Regions from separate parts of the Homo sapiens genome. Here region 2 is linked to region 1. Evidence: promoter capture Hi-C in human tissues and cell types (Jung and others, 2019). All regions are on one chromosome and are shown on one strand. The core of a region is centred on a gene start or on the middle of the fragment in contact, and the rest is flanking DNA. Distances in the headings are between cores, read along the strand shown. Region 1 holds the start of RILPL1 (Rab interacting lysosomal protein like 1). Region 2 overlaps VPS37B (VPS37B subunit of ESCRT-I).

Region 1 (4,927 bases), core at 1,413-3,912:
ACATGCCAAAAACATTTTTGTGGAAATATCACCTTGAAGAGCCTTTGAGACTCTGCAGGAAAAAAAAAAAAAAATCATACAAGTCTCTCTCCATCCCAAGAATGTGAAGTAAACGGGTCTGGGGCTGGGGTGGGAAAAGAATTGCATCCTTGATTTAGAGAGGTCATCCTCAATGTAAGTCAACAAGCCCTGGCCCTGAGCGCACGGTGTTCACTTCCCAGCTGAACACTTTCCAGAGGCAACAAGTGCAGCTGCTGACAATTCCATGTGACTTCAGACCTGGTGGCCTCCGATGGCTTCCAAGGATTTCTCCCAGCTCCCCCGCAACAGAACTAAAGAGCCCCAGTTGGGGGACAGTATAGGTGCCAGGACTTCTGTGTGATCTGGTCAAAGCCCCTTGGTCCCTGTTAATAAGAGGCGCCACACGAGAGAATTTCCAAGGTCCCTTGCCTCCTTGACCCTCTATGAGAGATGGAGGCCTCTAGGGTAGGAGTAGAGGTGCTTGGGGTGGGGACGGTTTCCTAATATGAGCCTGTGAGCACCTCAATGAATGTCTCTCCAGGCCTAAAAAGAATTTTAAGACTTGCAAAGCCCTTGCTATGGGCAGGCTCTGTCCTGAACACTTTATATGTATTTATATTAACTCTTTAAACCTCATCACATTCTAATGGGGGTACTATTACTATCCCATTTTAGAACTGAGGAAACTGAAGCACAGAGATGCTGGGTGATTTGCCCAAGATCACACAGCCTGCAAGTGGTAGGGTTTGAAACCAGGCTGTCTAGCTCCAAAGTCCTAGCTTCTAGGAGTCTTGAAATTAATTACAGGTCAAAGCATTTTCAGGCTCCCAGAGTGACCTCGGAAATGCTGCTCAACTCTTGGGAGCCTGAGTTTCCTTCCTGCCCCTAGGGCATAGGGACCCATGAGGACGAGCACAGTCAAACATGGCAATGGTGCTGTTACCTACCTGTGGGTCTGCCCTCAGGTAAAGGGTTCAGACCCAGCTTTGGCTATTTTACTCCAAAACACAGAGATCCATCAAAGTACACAATAAGGGATGGCCTGCCCCTGAGGTTCAGAGAGGCCATCTGTATTTCCTGAGGCTGAACAGCAAGCTGGAGACTGCTCAGGCACCCTGATCCCTCAAGGAAAGGTGTTTCCTCCCATTCTCAGTCTGAAGGGGCTGCCAAGAGCATCCCTGGCTGAGGTTAGGGCAGGAAACCACATGTCTTTCACTTCCTTTTCTCCAGAAACCTCGTCTGAACTCCAGGCCCAGTGGGGAGGCCCTGATTCAGAGAGACTCCTGATCACAGGGCAGAGGCTTAGCCTTAAAGCCACCCCAAATCATCCCTTTCCCCCAATTCAAACAGGGTGGGGAGGAGACACGGGGGCTGGGACTCTCTCACCACTAATTTGGGACAAATTGCTCCTCCCACTGTGACCCTCGGTTTCTTTATCTGTAAAATGAAGATAGTCTCTATAGAGTCCTGTGAGGATTAAGGATAAAATCAGAGGAGAGAACACGGGCTACCACAGGTTCATAAGCTAGGGGAGTCCCGGGAAGAAAGTTGCAAATATGAACCCGAAGACTAGGGGTCACGAAGCTCAGTGGCTGGAGGTCACATTCCCTTTGCTCTGGGGAGACTGGGGGGGGGGGGGATGAAGAAAGGGTCCTGGGCCTGATGTCACATCTTCTTGGTAACTCGGGAGGCCAAGAGGCTTATTTCATGTCTGGAAGAGAATAATATGTCTAAGCACTTAGCTTATATGGTCCCATTTAATTCTTCTAAGGTGGGTCCTATTATGATTACCATTTGACAGGTGAGGAAATAAAGCACAGAGAGGTTAAGTAACTTACCTAAAGTCACACAGCTATTAAACGGTAAAGGTGGGATTGGAACTCCAGAGAACAGCTCTTAATCTCTCGGGTGGTATCTGCCAGCCACCCCTGGTCGGGCAAAAGAAGGCCAGGGCCTCCCTCCCTCCCCACGTCGGGTCTCCTCTGGTCCGGTCCCTGAACACACACACGTGCGCACCCACAGCTGCCCAATGCGGAAGAGCCCTTGGGTCCCCGCGGTCCCACTGCCCGGACGGACAGACCGAGGCCGCCGCCCACCTTCTGGTGCTTGCGCTCCTTCTCGATGCGGTCCATCCTCTCCAGGCGCAGGCGGTCCAGCTCCAGGCGCAGCTCGTCCAGCTCGGGCGCGACGTGGTGGCGGCTGACCAGCACCTCCAGGATCTCCAGGACGCGCACGACCTTGGGCATGAGGCGCGCGATGGCCTCGCAGCCGTGCTGGTCAATGACCCGCTCGAACTCGTGGCCCACAAGCGACGCGATGTCGTACACGTCCATGACGGTCAGCTCGGCCACGTTCTTCTCCAGCGCCGACTCGGCCGCCAGCGCCGACCCCCGCTCCTCCTCCATGGCCACCCTCCTGGCCTGTCCCCCGCCCCGCAAACTCGTGCAACTCCCAAACTTGCCGCTGTCGAGGGCCGGGCCGGCCGGGCCCAGCCTGGGCCGCGGGCGGGCGCGCTCAGCGGGCGCTGGGGCGAGGGCGCAGCGGGCAGCGGGCGGCGGGCGCGGGCGCGGGCACGGGCGGCGGCGCGGGGTGTGCGGGCCCGGGGTCTGGGCGCCCGGCTCGGCCCGGAGCTGCTCCCGAGTGGGCGGCGGCGGCGGCGGCGGCGGCGGCGGCAGCGGGGAGGGCGCGCGCGTGCGCAGGCCCGCGGCGCCTCCCAAGTTGGGATCCGAGTTGCGCTCAATGGAGCCGGGCCGGGCGCCTCGGGGCGGTGCGGGCCTGAGGGGCGGCAGAGCGCGGGGCCGGAGAGGAAGGGCGGCCCGCGGCTCCTCCGGGAAACTTTGGCGGCGGCGGCTGCGAGGCCGGGTGATCGCTTCCCCACAGGGAGGCCGCGCGCCCCGCCCCAATCCCGGCCTGGCCAGGGGCGCGCCCGCTTTCCGCCGCCCGGGGGCGCCCCGGGGTACCCCCCCAAGCGCCGACTCCGCGGCCTGCACTCCGGGCCCCCCTCTCCAGCCGCCGGACCCGCGGCGCCCCTCACCCGTGCCCCGGCCGCCCCTCCCCCGCCCGGCGCTGACTCCTCCCACCACCCGGCCGCCGGGAGGGGTCCAGGCCGCCCCGGGAGAGGGGGCCGGGGGCGCTGGTCTCGCGGGACGATTCGCTGCTCCGGGTAGCGGCCCCGGCCTTGGAGAGGGATGGAGGGGTCACGAGGAGGTCCCCGGGCTGGGGCTCATCCCAGGAAGAGAACGGGGACCCCCCCCGGCCCGCAGACACTCCGCGCAGACCCGGCCACCAGGCGGACTTGCAGAGGCGCCCGGAGAGGGGCCGACGTGTCGAGGAATGCTGGATCCCCGGAGCCCCAGGGCGCGCCTCCCCGAGCCACATCCATCACTGGCTCCTTGTGACATGAACGCCACTTCACAGTAGAGCGAAGCCCGCTTGGCATTCCAGCACCACGAGTTCTCTTGTCCCAAGGCCCCCTGTCCATTTGGGCTGGCCAAATCCACTTGTCCATCAGACCCCCTCCCACTCCCGGGAGAACGTTTCCTGAACCCAGAACCCCATCCACCCTCCCCGCCCCCCACGCAGGAGTTAAGGACCCCCTTGCAAACTCACAGTCCCCTGCTTGCCCCATCAGGATTGCTCTTAGCATCCTGAGTTTTCACCGTGTGGTTGCAGGTAGGTTTCCACCGTCAGATCTTGGCTCCTTGAGGGAAGAAATCTTAATGCCCTTGTAGCCATAAAGCGCACCCCAACGTGGCACGTATTGATTAAAAATCTAAAAGTTGGCCGGGCGCGGTGGCTCACGCCTGTAATCCCAGCACTTTGGGAGACTGAGGTGGACGAGGTCAGGAGTTCAAGACCAGCCTAGCCAAGGTGGTGAAACCCCGTCTCTACTAAAAATACAAAAATTAGCCGGGCATGGTGGCGCATGCCTGTAATCCCAGCTACTCAGGAGGCTGAGGCAGAGAGTTGCTTAAACCCGGGAGGCGGAGGTTGCAGCAAGCCGAAATCGCGCCACTGCACTGCAGGCTGGGTGACAGAGCAAGACTCCATCTCAAAATAATAATATAATACAATAAATAAATAAATAAATAGTAAAAAAAAAAAAATTAAGGCCAGGCGGGGTGGCTCACGCCTGTAATCCCAGCACTTTGGGAGGCCGAGGTGGGAAAATTTCTAGAGCTCAGGAGTTCGAGACCAGCCTGGCCAACATGGTGAAACCACGCCTCTACTAAAAATACAAAAATTAGCCAGACATGGTGGCATGTGCCTGTAATCCCAGCTACTCAAGAGGCTGAGGCGCGAGAATCATTTGAGCCTGGGAGGCAGAGGTTGCAGTGAGCCAAGATCGTGCCACTGCACTCCAGCTTGGGCAACAAGAGCGAAACTCCGTCTCAAAAAAAAAAAAGAAAAAAAAAAAAGTAAAATAAAAAAATTAGCCAGACGTGGTGGTGAGAGCCTGTAGTCCCAGGTATTTGGGAGGCTGAGGTGGGAAGATCCCTTGAGCCTGGGAGGCAGAGGTTGCAGTGAGTTGAGATCACACCACTATGCTCCAAACTGGGCGACAGAGCGAAACTCTGTCTCAGAAAAATAAAAAATAAAAATAAATACTCCTGGCCACAGTGGCTCATGCTTGTAATCCTAGCACTTTGGGAGGCCAGGGCTGGAGGATCACTTGAGCCCAAGATTTCGAGACCAGCCTGGGCAGCATGGCAAAACCCCGTCTCTATTTAAAAAAAAGTCTGGTTGCAGTGACTTATGCCTGTAATCCCAGCACTTTGGGAGGCCAAGGGGGGCAGATCAGTTGAGGTCAGGAGTTCAAGATCAGCCTGGCCAACATGGTGAAACCTCATCTCTACTAAAAATACAAAAAAAAAAAAAAATTAGCCAGGCGTGGTGGCAGGCGCCT
Region 2 (4,701 bases), core at 2,156-4,655, 650 kb before region 1:
GGCACTGAGCGTTGTGCACTGCCCAACTCCAGGGGGTGCCATTCACTTCGTACTGCAGCACTGCATACCCGCACAGACTGCATCTGCTCTTCCAATAAAAGGCTCAAAAGAGAAAAAGGGGAAAAATCAAAACAGATGTGATTTTAACGGTTTAAGTAAGACAAGTTACTGGTGCTGATCTGAAAACTTTGCTCTTGTCAGTATCTTCCACATTTCAACAAAATTTGCTGACATTTGTTGAGCATAGCTAGCATGTGCCACCTTCTCTTAGTTCCACTGTCTCCATTCTATCCTCTGTGACAGTGAGACAAATTTGTCCTCATTTTACTCAAGAGACAGGAAACACAATCTTAGGAAGGTTAAACGAGCTGTCAAAGTTACAACTGCTAGTAACTCCCTCCAGAGCTGCGATCTTAACTACTGTGCAGTGGCTCACGCCTGTAGCCCCAGTTACTTGGGAGGCTGAAGCAAGAGGATCACTTGAGCCTAGGAGTTCAAGGCCAGTCTAGGCAACATGGTGAGACCCTATCTCTAAAAATAAATTATGCCAGGTATGGTGGCTCATGGCTGTAAACCCAGCACTCTGGGAGGCCCAGGCAGGCAGATTGTTTAAGCCCAGGAGTTGGTTGGAGAACAGCCTGAGCAATAAAGTAAGACCCCATCTCTACAAAAAATAAAAAATGAGCCAGCCATGGCAGCATGCACCTGTGGTCCCAACTACTGGGAGGCTGAGGAAGGAGGCTTGCTTGAGCCAGGGAAGGCAAGACCGCAGTGGGCTGTAATCACACCACTACACTCCAGCAGAGGATCAAATGGAAATTTACTAGTTTACTATTTCTCTATTTTCATGTTATAACAACAATCATCTAAGGTTCATTCCTATTTATACCTTTTTTAAAAAAACCTTTTATAGAAGATACTTTCAAAAAGTAAAGGTAGAGAGATGAGTATGATGAAACTATGTATAACCGTCTCCTAGGTTCGACAATTAGCAACATTTGCCAATCTTCATCTATATTCCCGCTTTTTTTTAAAAGTAGTTTAAAGCAAACTTCGAGCATCATCATTCATGCTTAAAAATTTTATATTTCTAACAGGTAAGAACTTTTTAACCCTAGCTACAATGCCATAATCACATTTAGCAAAATTCACAATAATCCTTTAATATCATCCTCTGCATGTGTTGGCTCAATTTCTTCTATAAAAAACTTTTTGCCTCATCTATTTGACTACATGAAATACAGTTTATATAGGAAAAGCTGGATAAATGCTTGGTTCTTTTTTTTTTCTTTTTAAACCAACTTTTGGAAGACTGAGTTCATACCTGAGCAAACTCCAAAAATGACCAATAAGCTTTTTGGGAGTATCATTATGAAGTAATGAAGTTTTTATCTCTGATAAAAGGCTGTTCTGGGACACCACTGCTGCCCTGCTCTCCAGTAAAATATGTCTAAGACCAATCCTGTACATTTGCTGCCCCCAAGCTTAGCTGGCCCTTCTCAAAGGAATACTAGTTCCTTTTGGTGGGAAATTTGATTTTCACCTTTTCCTCTCCAGATAAAATTAAATTCAAAGTTATCTATAACACAAAGAAAAGGAATAAAACAAATCTTAGCTTTTGTACTATTCTACTACTAGAAATATTCTCAAATTGCATTAAGACCTTAAATGCAGCAGGCTTATGGGTTAGGTTTGATAAAGAAAGGCTGCCATACATTCAGCTAGGTTAACTGCATCTCTTTTTATTTTACTATACTTGATTTATCACACCAACTAATTTCAAGGTAAATTTCACCAAAGTAACATGCAATTTGAGTTTGAGCTTTACATTAAAGGCTAGGTTATTTAAAAGTCCAAATTCACCTTCATTCAGTAAAAAGATATTCCCAATGACAAACTAATTTCACCAGTCTCCACCTGAATTCAGGTCTTCAGGTGAAGCCTGTAACCCAAGCCTACGATGGCCCTTAGATGTGCTGTAAACACATTAATGTGGCTTAATTCAAATCTTCAGTTTTACTGAAACAAACTTAACAGTTGCGGAGTTGGACTATTAACATGTTGACAAAATTAAAAGATCTGCAAATACAGAAATATAGTTAAAGAATCGGAGAACATTATGAAACAGTCCTAAAATACGACAATCCTGGGGGTTGTGTGAAACCATCTCCAAGGCTACAGCCCACTCAGGAAGGAAACTTACCAGCTGCTTATCGAATGTTCCACCAAACAACCCACTCCACACACAGAACCTCTAACTTCCAACTATTAGATTAATAAAGATAGCTATTTTTATCGGAGACATCAAAATCCTTCTTGAGAGAAAACTTGCTTCCCTCGAAAAGGAACAGACAGTGAGATCTAGACTCAAACGATCCCCTCCATATGTAGCTGACGTGAATCTAAAAATTGGTACGTGTGAGTGCAGCTAACCACAGAAACACAAAAAGCTAGGCTCGAAAATAAATGGACTATTCCTAGGTAAGATGGAAAGTGACACACTTGACAGTTTCTAGGGCTGGCAGGCACAACTTACCAGGAGAGGGTTTGGTTTTTCCTAGAAGACATATTTTCTTTTCTTTTTTCTTTTTTTTGAGACAAGAGTCTCACTCTGTCACCAGGCTGGAGTGCAGTGGCACGATCTCAGCTCACTGCAACCTCTGCCTCCTGGGTTCAACCAGCCTCAGCCTCCCAAGTAGCTGAGACTACAGGTGTGCACCACCACATCCAGCTAATTTTTGTATTTTTAGTAGAGATGGGGTTTCACCATGTTGGCCAGGATGGTCTCGATCTCTTGACCTCGTGATCCGCCTGCCTTGGCCTCCCAAAGTGCTGGGGATTACAGGCGTGAGCCACCGTGCCTGGCCAGAAGACATATTTTCTAATACTCAGAGGAAAAACAAGCTCTCCCTTCTTCTTGGACTTATAATGTGGATAATGGTGTCAGTAATAAAGAAATATACTAACAGGTGTCAATGGTTCTGATAACTGGCATATGTTATAAAATGTCCTAACTGGCTTCAGAATAACTGGAGACCTTGGAGGAAGGAGGGCAGGAGTGAGGATCAGAAGACAAGATGGGACACCCACACAGATCACAAAGTTAACTGCCTTTGTCCTCTGGCCCTATCCTAGGCCTTCCGAATTAGAATCTCAGCAGTAAAGGCCAGGAAATGCACAGCGGAGCCCTCCACTCCACATCATCAGAACCAGTTAGGTCCCTGTAACTGAGCAGTTTGGTTAAAGCACACACTAAGCATTTTAAAAATCTGTTGTCAATGTTTCATTTAAGGTAAAGGTCTTTTCTTAAGGGAAGGGGTCCACTAGAAGTTCTTTTTCCAATAGGCCACGCCTTTTCCTGTGGGGTGGGAACTGGACACCGGATAAGCAATCAGGGCAGAGTCCGAGTCCTTTGGGAATTCTTCCACTTCCCCTATCTAGTCCAGACCTAATTCACCACCAAGTTTTCTTTCAAGAGAATCAATTTATATCTATGCTTTCCAAAGCACTCAGTTGACAGTTTTTGTAGAAATAACTTTCTCTTTGCACTCATGCAAAAATCCAGTTGCCCCAGGATTTAATGAAATCATAGAACTATTGTAATAAAACCAGAATGAACAGATCTGGGAGTGAACACATTTGATCCTGTGTAAGTATGAGATTCCAGTGTAGGAGCAGAAATGTCCAGATACCTAGTCATGACCACCTGACCATGAGGGGTGTCAGTTAATAGCTTCTACTCCCCTCCCATCTCAAAAAAAAAACCAGCTTACGGAAGACAGAATTCCTAAAATTCTGATTTTCTTATTAATAGTTTCTGGCCAGGACCAACAACCAAAGCATTCATTTGTTTAGGAAGAGCTTCGGGTTTTATTGTTTGTTTTTTCCCCCTCATCTCTATTTCCTTTTTACAATTTCTGGAAATTCATGTCTAAGAATTCTTCGGACCAGTCTTTACACAGGTGCAAATAAGAAAGTGCCTATCCAGGTGGACCCTGGATTTATGTTTATTAAGACTGTATCTTTTGACAATTTTGTTTTTACATTTAAAATACATCATGACATGAACTTTCCAACACCTGACCCGGAATTTGGTTCAACAGATAAAATTTAACTCTCACGTGACTCCAATTACTCATCTTCTATTCCGTTTAAATGAGAAAATGCTATTCTAATAATGGAATTTTTTTTTTCAGTCTGTGGTTAGGGAAAAAAGGGATTAGTCAAAAGAGAATCTGTTGAGATTACTCCACTGAAATTTCGTAATTAAAAAACTATATAATCATATTTCATGTAGGGGATCAGATATTTTACCTAAAAACTGCCTAGACACTTAAGACTTACTAAAAAAAAAAAAAGTTAAATGTTGATCACTTTAACGTATTTGTTTTAAACAGATTTCAAAGATGTTAACTGCATTATAATTTATGACAGCAAAAAAGTGCCTAAATATCCAATAAAGGAATGGTTATATAAATGACATATCCACATGAAAGATCACATAGCTGTTAAAAATCATGTCATGTAAGAATATTCTGATTTAAAAAATAAGAAAATACCCAGAGTATAACTTTAGGTTAAAATCAAACAAAAACTCTACAAAAACTCTAAAAAATCATCCCAAAAGGGAACAACAAAGGAAAAAAACTTAAATGCTTTGTTAACAGTGTTTATCTCTGGGTAGTGATATGATGTGATTAC

Evidence for each region. The method cuts DNA at HindIII sites, captures the fragments that hold promoters and counts their contacts. A contact is called where the count stands out against the background at its distance.
Region 2: a contact is called between a fragment that was not itself captured here and the fragment with the promoter of RILPL1 in region 1, in 1 of the 25 tissues and cell types used here (spleen).

Annotation. Positions count from the first base shown.
Region 1 is chr12:123,531,057-123,535,983 of GRCh38, forward strand. RILPL1 (Rab interacting lysosomal protein like 1) reads right to left here and starts at 2,663. Exons shown (of 7, transcript NM_178314.5): 1 at 2,118-2,663. The coding sequence starts at 2,426. RefSeq lists an enhancer at 1,664-2,481 and silencers at 2,697-3,386, 3,406-3,591. The HindIII fragment of the contact is 25,082 bases long and covers 1-4,927 here.
Region 2 is chr12:122,880,912-122,885,612 of GRCh38, forward strand. All of the region lies in intron 1 of VPS37B (VPS37B subunit of ESCRT-I), which reads right to left. Among named protein-coding and RNA genes, the nearest start is that of VPS37B, 13 kb to the right of the region's middle. The HindIII fragment of the contact is 7,734 bases long and covers 1-4,701 here.